3 separate regions of the Homo sapiens genome follow, and regions 1 and 2 are each linked to region 3. The links are contacts of gene promoters, found by promoter capture Hi-C in human tissues and cell types (Jung and others, 2019). All regions are on one chromosome and are shown on one strand. Each heading gives the region's core, a stretch centred on a gene start or on the middle of the fragment in contact. The rest is flanking DNA. Distances are from core to core; before and after follow the strand shown. Region 1 overlaps DPPA2 (developmental pluripotency associated 2). Region 2 has its middle 12 kb from the start of LINC01205. Region 3 holds the start of DPPA4 (developmental pluripotency associated 4).

Region 1 (2,850 bases), core at 203-2,702, 38 kb after region 3:
TTAAATTTTTTTAAATGAAAAAACCATAAGCATTTATGAATGGGGAGGAGCTGCATGAAGAGAGGGGAATGGAGAGTATAAAGATGAAGGAAGCCGGGCATGGTGGCTCACAACTGCAATCCTAGCACTTTGGGAGGCCAAGGTGGGCAGATGACTTGAGCTTAGGAGTTTGAGACTGGCCTGAGAAACATAGTGAAACCCTGTCTCTATATAAAAAAATTAGCCAGGTGTGGTGGCATGCACCTGTGGTCCCAACTACTGGGGAGGCTGAGGTGGGAGGATCACCTCAGCCCTGGAAGTCAAGGCTGCAGTGAACTGTGATAGTGCCACTGCACTCCAGCCTGGGCAGCAGAGTGAGAACCTGTCTTAAAAAAAAAAAAAAAAGATGTGAGATCCATTGCAGTATGTGGAATGTAAGCCCTGAGAGTAAGTGAACAACCCTTTTCCTTTATTTAGTACATAAAGTCTTTTTGTGCACCATTCCTAGGTTTTAGGGCAAATGACTCAGGAACTCCAGAAGTGCATTCTTTTTTTTTTTTTTTTTTTTTGAGACTGAGTCTCGCTCTGTCACCTAGGCTGAAGTTCAGTGGCTTGGTCTCGGCTCACTGCAACCTCTGCCTCCCATACTCAAACAATTATCCGGTCTCAGCCTCCTGAGTAGCTGGGACTACAGGCCTGTGCCACCATGACCGGCTAATTTTTGTAATTTTAGCAGACACAGGGTTTCACCATATTGGTCAGGCTGGTCTCAAACTCCTGACCTCAGGTGATCTGCCCTCCTCAGCCTCCCACAGTGCTAGGATTACAGGCGTGAGCCACCACACCCGGCCCAGAAGTGCATGCTTTATTTTATTGGTCATTTTAAAGGGATTGGTAAGGGATGGTTTACCTTGCTGTAGCAATATTTCACAGTTCTTTTCTACTTGCCTTACAGGAATAAGAAGATGATGAAAAGATTAATGACAGTAGAGAAGTAGCAGCAACCTGTTTGAATACAATGTAAGAGATGAGAATATGCCACCTCAAAATAAGTATTATTTTGATTTGAAGGCAATTGAAAAGAGTCACATACAAGAGAAACTCTCTGCCTTCCCCCTATTCACTAAAAAACAGGACATAAATGTATCAAAGTCTCTTGTCTGCTGTCTACCAGGAAGTACAAATGGTGGCGCGTCTGTAGATAACTTGCATCCCAATCATTGCTGTGCTGTGTCCTGACCATCTTTGGTATCTCCTGATGCCTTGAGTACTGACTTACTAAATAGTTAGCTGCACAGAATACAATTTGGTTTTGTTTTAATTAATGGACTCTTTTTTGAAAATGAAAACTTGAGTGAAAAGTATAGGGTTCCCATGTATTCCCATGTACACGGTGCTTCACACCCCCTCCATTTTCCTCTGTTAGTAACTTGCATTAGTGTGCTACATTTTTTACAATTGATGAGGCAGGGCTGGGCATGGTGGTAGTCACCTGTAGTCCCAGCTACCGGGAAGGCTAAGTCAGGAGGATCACTTGCACCCAGGAGGAGTTCAAGGTTGTAGTTCTCTGTGATCACACCTGTGAATTGCCACTGCACTCCAGCCTGGGCAACATAGTCTCTAAAAAAAAAAAAAAACTAATGAGTCAATATTGATACATTATTCTTTTTTCTTTTTCTTTTTCTTTTTCTTTTTTTTTTTTTTGAGACGGGGTCTCATTCTTGTCGCCCAGGCTGGAGTACAATGATGAGATCTCAGCTCACTGCAACCCCTGCCTCCCAGGTTCAAGCAATTCGCCTGCCTCCGCCTCCCAAGTAGCTGGGATTACAGGTGCACACCACCACGCCCAGCTAAATTTTTATTTTATTTTTTTTGAGACAGAGTCTCACTCTGTTGCCCAGGCTGGAGTGCAGTGGCGTGATCTCAGCTCACTGCAACCTCCGCCTCCCACCTCCCGGGTTCAAGCAACTCTCCTGCTTCAGCCTCCCGAGTAGCTGGGATTACAGGCATGTGCCACCACACCCGGCTAATTTTTTTGTATTAGTAGAAACGGGGTTTTGCCATATTGGCCAGGCTTGTCTCGAACTCCTAATCTTGGGATCCACCCGCTTCGGTTTCCCAAAGTGCTGGGATTACAGGCGGGAGCCACCGCACCCAGCCCCCAGTCAATTTTTTTTTTTTTTTTTGGTATGTTTAGTAGAGTCGGGGTTTCACCATTTTGGCCAGGCTGATCTGGAACTCCTGACCTCAGGTGATCCACCTGCCTCAGCCTCCCAGTGCTAGGATTACAGGCGTGAGCCACCGTGCCCGGCCTCTTTTTCTTTCTTAAAAATTTGTTTATTTTTGAGACAGGGTCTGGCTCTGTCACCCAGGCTGGAGTGCAGTGGCACGATCTCAGCTCACTGCAACCTCTGCCTTCCGTGTTCAAGCCATCCTCTCACCTCAGCCTCCCAAGTAGCTGGGACTACAGACACACACCATAATGCCCAGCTAATTTTTTTTAATTTTTGGTAGAGGACGGGTTTCACCGTGTTGCTCAGGTGAACAGCCTGGTTCAAGACCATTGAACTCCTGAGCTCAAGCAATCCACTCGCTTAATCTTCCAAAGTGCAGGGATTACAGGCGTGAGCCACTGTGCCTGGCTATTTTATTATTATTATTATTATTATTATTTTTAGACAGAATCATACTTTATCACCAGGCTGGAGTGCAGTGACGCCGATCTCAGCTCACTGGAACCTCCGCCTCCCAGGTTCAAGCGATTCTCCTGCCTCAGCCTTCCGAGTAGCTGGGATTACAGGCACCCGCCACTATGCCCAGCTAATTTTTTGTATTTTTTTAGTAGAGATGGGGTTTCACCATGTTGGCCAG
Region 2 (3,082 bases), core at 517-3,016, 60 kb before region 3:
TACAAAAAAACTACCTGGGTGTGGTGGCGCATGCCTGTAATCCCAACTATTTGGGAGGCTGAGGCAGGAGAATCACTTGAACCTGGGAGGCAGAGATTGCCGTGAGCCAAGATCGGGCCACTGCACTCCAGCCTGGGCGACAGGGCAAGACTCCGTCTCAAAAAAAAAAAAAAAAAATATATATATACACACACACACACACACACACACACACAAATATTTAAGGTAACTTTATTTATAATAGTCCACACCAGAAGTTAATCCAATGTCCATCTACATTTGGGTGGAAAAATAAATATTAGTTACTTTGGATGACAGTATTTACTGAAAACACACCTCATATTACCTTCTGGGCTGCTGCATATATTCAGATAATTTTAACCGAATTGTGGTTAAAAGGTGTTTTCATATGTAAAAGTTCATGGAGCACTTAAGATTGGTACACTTTATTGTGTATATTATATGACAATAAAAAATTTTTAAATGAACCAAAAAATATGATCGTGTGTGTGTGTGTGTGTGTGTGTGTGTGTGTGTGTGTGTGCGCGCCCTATTCTGGACTCTTTTGTGTTCCTTAGTAAAACTGGAGCCTGCCAGCTTGTAGCAAGAGAGAAGTAGCAAGAGGATTCTCCCTGACCACATCCAGTTCTTACCTCTAGGTGGAATTAGAGGACCAGCTACAACCCAAATCCTCCCTGGGCACATCCAGACATCAAGCTTTCCTTCCTACCTAGCCTCACCCTCCTGCCACTGGTGATCAAGAGAAGAAAAGCAGAAAGAGTGGGAAGCAGTCACTAATTCCAGCACTGGCCCAGGTACAAATGTTTACCCAGAAAATAAAAGCTTTAAAGGATCCCATAGAGTCACTGCTTATATTAATTATGTTATACAATAACAATAGAGTAATTTCAACCACCTCTCATCTGTCTCTACTCTAGGCCTGATAATACCCCTTTCGGGGAACGTCTGACCTAAAAGTGTAGAGTGGAGGCAAAAAGTAAGGAAGATCCACCCCTTTAATGCTTCCATTATATGTTCCCTATACTCAATCTATCAAAGGTCACATTCCTTTATTAGTGGAACAGGAGTGTTCTACACATAGCACAGTCTTCCCAATACTTGTTTCTGCTTTCTCCCAGTCTTTTGTAATTTTTTTTGGGATGAGGTCTCACTGTGTTGCCCAGGCTGGAGTGCAGTGGCATGATCTCAGCTCACTATAACCTCCACCTTCCCGGCTCAAGCCATCTTCCAGCCTCAGCCTCCCAAGTAGCTGCAACCACAGGCAACGCACCAACATGCCCAGCTAATTTTTGTATTTTTGGGAGAGATGGGGTTTCACCATGTTGCTCAGGCTTGTCTTAAACTCCTGAACTCAAACGATTCACCGCACCCAGCCATCTTTTGTAGTTTTTAACAGACGTATTCTTTTTTCTGTTTTGCAGATTGTCTTCTCTTTTTTTTTTTTAATAATAAAACTAATTCTGGCCAGGTGAGGTGGCTCGCCCCTGTAATCCCATCACTTTGGGAGGCCAAAGCAGGAGGATCACTTGAGTCCAGGAGTTCAAGACCAGACTAGGCAACACACTGAGACCCTGTCTCTACAAAAAAATTTAAAAATTAAAAACATTAGCCAGGCATGGTGGCATGATCCTATAGTCCCAGCTACTCAAGAGGCTGAGGTGAGAGGATCATTTAAGCCTGGGAAGTCGAGGTTGCAGTGAGCTGTGATTACACCACTACACTCCAGCGTGGGTGACCCTGTCTCCAAAAAATAAATAAATAAAACTAATTTTAATTGCACTTGCATTTTATATGTCAAGTATTACATCTTTAAGCCTACTAAATTTCTGATTAAAAAAATTGTTAAACAGTATCAAAAGCATAGTCATATTTGTTAAGTTTCATATTGGTAATTACTGGTTCTGAATTCATGTAAACATCTGCAATTGGCCAGTGTAAACAAAGAGGATAGACGATGGTAATGGACCTTAATTAAACAGCCATCACTGCAATCCCATACTATTCCTTTCACTTTACCTACTCTGCAGCTTTCAAACCAGGACAACAGATCATTGTGCTTCAACATAGGCAGGTTTCTTTTTTTGAGTCGGTGTCTCGCTCTGTCACCCAGGCTGTGGTGCAGTGGTGCGACTCTGCTCTCTGCAGCCTCTGCCTCCTGGGCTCAAGCGATTCTCCTGGCTCAGCCTCCTGAGTAGCTGGGATTACAGGCGCCTGCCACCACGCTCAGCTAATTTTTGTATTTTTAGTAGAGAAGGGGTTTCACCACATTGGCCGGGCTGGTCTCGAACTCCTGACCTCAGGTGATCCGCCGACCTCAGCCTCCCAAAGTGCTGGGATTACTGGCATGAGCCACCACGCTCGGCCCAATATAGGCAGGTTTCTTATTTGAAATGGTCCGTGTAGTATAACATATTGTGGATGCTTCTTCCTTCCTAACCCATATGGGTTTCCATTGATATTTGTTCCTATAAGCTGCAATGTTTGTTCCAAGAAATCTGATAATGGCACGGCACTAATTTCCAAAAGCCTAGGATCCTCAGGATGATGCTTTAGTACCAGATCAATTGCAAATTCATAATTAACCACAGAGGAATGCCAGTAATGCTATTTGTTATTTTTCTCTACTGGTGCCCCACCAGGAATGTGTCCATGTTTCGTCATGGACCAGATTCCTATTTAATTTTTCTGTTTCCTTTGCTGCTAGCCAACACTCTGGAGTAGCTTTGAAGTACTCCTCAACATTCCAAGAAAATTCTTTGAAGTTTTCTTTTGAATGTAGAAAATTTTAAAACCTTTTAACAGGTTGTTTGTTAGGTTTTCTATCTAATCAAACCGAAAGGTATCTCTGTAAGTAGCAACGTAACAACATGTTCCATCCACTTTTTCTGTTGGAATTGCACTGTAGATACCTGCATCTAATGCCTCATGACTTACAGTTTTCGTTGCCAAAACTTTAAATGGCTGATTCTGCCTTTCGGTGGAGGGCTCCTTTTTCACCTCCCTAGAAACACACGGCATTTTCCGCTACACGGAGCCCAGGCGCCTCGTGGTCGGCCCAGCA
Region 3 (2,905 bases), core at 216-2,715:
TTGTTGGCCAGGCTGGTCTCAAAACTCCTGAACTCAAGTGACCTGCCCACCTCAGCCCCCCAAAGTGCTGAGATTACAGGCGTGAGCCACCATGCCCAGCCCAGAACTCCAGTTATTCTGAATGTTACGTTCAATTACACTGACAAAAGAAAGATGATTCAGTTATACACTTTATACACAAACCTTAATTAGAAAGTCCTACTGGTGGTTACCAAAGGCTGTGGTAAAGAATTGTTAAATCAAAGCCCTAATATCTCCCAGATGACCTCAACTCACCTGGTTTCCTCTTTGCCGCCTTGGGGGTTGCCCAGTCCACAACCTGCACTTCCTTCTCTATTCCTGGGCTCCGTTTACTTACTTTTTCTGTCCGTGGATTTCTAGCCTGTGAGCAGATTACTAACACCATTTGGATAAAGACAGTCTCTTATTTATCATTTTAGGACAAGCAATGAGATGTAGGAAAAAAAAACAACAAAGTAAACCAAAGAACAAAAGAGACTTTGGACCCTGACAAGGGAGGGTTTCAGTCGCACAGCCACTGCTTCCTTCACTTCACATCTCTTGACAATCTGACAGGGAGCACTGATCTGAGGAAAGATTTTTCAAATTATTTTAAGGAGAAAAACTTGAACTTCTTTGGGAGTCAGTAGGTTAGGGGTTCACTTACTGTGCTATTGAAAAAGTTACCAATAAAAATTTATACCAACTTTAGTCATATATAAAATGGGGAACAATAATGACTGAATTTAAAACTCACAATTTGAGATATAAAAAAATACTCGGGCGGGGAGTGGTGGCTCACGCCTGTAATCCCAACACTTTGGGAGGACAAGGCTGGAGAATTACTTGAGGGCAGGAGTTCGAGACCAGCCAGGTCAAAATAGCCAGACCCCCCCACTTGCCCTCTACAAAATAAATAACAAATACTCTATAGACTTTAAAAGCTACTATTATTAGTTCGTTGGCAGATGAAAAGATGCTCGGTATTAGTACAGAGAAACCTGGAGTTTTAGTTGGTTGAGTAACTTACTTAGGAAATGGAATGTATTTGGTACGAGAAAATAGCTTTCTTCAAGCCGCCAGTCTGGTCTCTGAAGTCTACTGTTGCCACAAGTTCCATTATTAAATCCCTTCACACATCCTGCTCAAGTCTCTGGCCACTGTTTTTTTGTTTTTTGTTTTTTGTTTTTTTTCCCCGTAGAATCGTTCTGAAGGAGTGCTCAATCTCCCAATGTCTCCGGAACCATACTTTGGATAATTACATTTAAAGTGAACAGAAAAGGGCCAGGAATAGTATTAGTAATTCAACCCAGACAAAAGTCACCCCATGAATAAGAAAGAATGCAATTTTAGCATTTACAAATTGTGGGGGAGGGAACAGAAGGGGAGAAGAAAAGAAGAGGTGAGGTGGAGAGAAAAAGGGTCTTCGGGCGGCAGGAAGTGGGAGGAGACTTTGCAAATAGCAATCTTGGGGCAGGGGCCATTTTGGAAGCATGTTGCGAGGCTCCGCTTCTTCTACAAGTATGGAGAAGGCAAAAGGCAAGGAGGTCAGTACAGTTTTAGTGGATTTGTTTTCTGTCTGTCTTTGTGTTTCTGTCTTCCCTGGGCACTCCTGATTTTTCCTTTAAGGAGAAAAGAATGTGCCTTCGAATTTTCTCCTCTTGACTTTTTTTTTTTTTATTTTAAGAGTAAGGCCCAAGAATATGATTGCAGCCTGGTATATTGGAGTGAGCAGACAAGTAAGAAATGAGGTTTTCTAGGTTTAGTTGAGGAGGTTGAGTGTGTCAAAAGATGGGGAAAAAAAAAAAAGAGGCCGGGCGCGGTGGCTCACGCCTGTAATCCCAGCACTTTGGGCAGCCGAGGCGGGCGGATCACCTGAGGTCGGGAGTTCGAGACCAGCCTGACCAAAATGGAGAAACCCCGTCTCTACTAAAAGTACAAAATTAGCCAGGTGTGGTGGCGCACACCTGTAATCCCAGCTACTCGGGAGGCTGAGGCAGGAGAATCGCTTGAACCCGGGAGTCGGGGGTTGCGGTGAGCCGAGATCGCCCCATTGCACCCCCAGCTTGGGCAACCAGAGCGAAACTCCACCTCAAAAGAAAAAGTTAAAAAATTAGGTTTTCAGGTTTGTGTTTTGGAACAGGGTTTCACTTTTGTCTCCCTGGCTGGAGTGCAGTGGCACCATCACTATTCACTGTAACCGCCCAGGCTCAAACGATCCTCCCACCTCGGCTTACCAAAGTGCTACTGGGACTGCAGGCGCCCGCCGCTGCTCCCGGCCCGGGTTTTCTGTTTTGAAGAGGTGCTTAGTCCTGTCAGAAAGAACTAACTGAATATGGGGGCTAGAGGGAAATGGTAACAGGAGAAAAGGGTGTTAAAGGAAAGATTTTAGGAAGAGGTAATTGAGCTGAGTTTGGAAAAGAATGAAACCCCTTAATTTCCTTTAGACGGACACAGATCCTAAACCGAGGGTGCTGAGAATGAATTCGTCCCCTTTTCCCAGCGTCCTTAGGACCTAGGAGTAATCAGAAGCCAGACATTGGGAACAATGCAGACAGAAACTGAAGGAAGAGAGGATTTAAGACGTTGCACAGGCACTGAACGGCCATATCCGAGCGCTCTCAGGTCCTCTTGACTTGAACTGGGTCATTTTTAACTGTCTCGGTTTTAAGTCTTTTGTGAGGTCCAAAGTGAGTACTTTTTGTAAGGTTTATGCAAATATAAATTTCAAATCAAAATGTAGAACTGCTATAGAGATGTAAAAATGCCATACAAATGTTAATTTGTCCAGTAATCCACCCTGAAAGTGAAGAAAAGGATTTAGATTTAGGAGAAATTTTATTATATTAATTTTTTTTTTTTAATGAGTTTGACTCTGTCGCCCAGAGTGGTGTGCAGTAGCCGA

Evidence for each region. Contacts are between HindIII fragments. The study calls those that stand out against the background at their distance.
Region 1: a contact is called between a fragment that was not itself captured here and the fragment with the promoter of DPPA4 in region 3, in 1 of the 25 tissues and cell types used here (neural progenitor cells).
Region 2: a fragment that was not itself captured here is called in contact with the fragment with the promoter of DPPA4 in region 3 in 2 of the 25 tissues and cell types used here (heart left ventricle and stomach).

The regions. Positions count from the first base shown.
Region 1 is chr3:109,298,520-109,301,369 of GRCh38, reverse strand. It overlaps DPPA2 (developmental pluripotency associated 2), which reads left to right. Exons shown (of 9, transcript NM_138815.4): 8 at 935-999. The coding sequence ends at 977. Among named protein-coding and RNA genes, the nearest start is that of DPPA2, 17 kb to the left of the region's middle. The HindIII fragment of the contact is 8,558 bases long and covers 1-2,850 here.
Region 2 is chr3:109,396,597-109,399,678 of GRCh38, reverse strand. It overlaps the pseudogene RLIG1P2. Among named protein-coding and RNA genes, the nearest start is that of LINC01205, 12 kb to the left of the region's middle. RefSeq lists an enhancer at 3,074-3,082. The HindIII fragment of the contact is 3,574 bases long and covers 1-3,082 here.
Region 3 is chr3:109,336,106-109,339,010 of GRCh38, reverse strand. It overlaps DPPA4 (developmental pluripotency associated 4), which reads left to right and starts at 1,465. Exons shown (of 7, transcript NM_018189.4): 1 at 1,465-1,547. The coding sequence starts at 1,494. RefSeq lists enhancers at 1-141, 1,360-1,967, 1,968-2,576, 2,577-2,905. The HindIII fragment of the contact is 13,883 bases long and covers 1-2,905 here.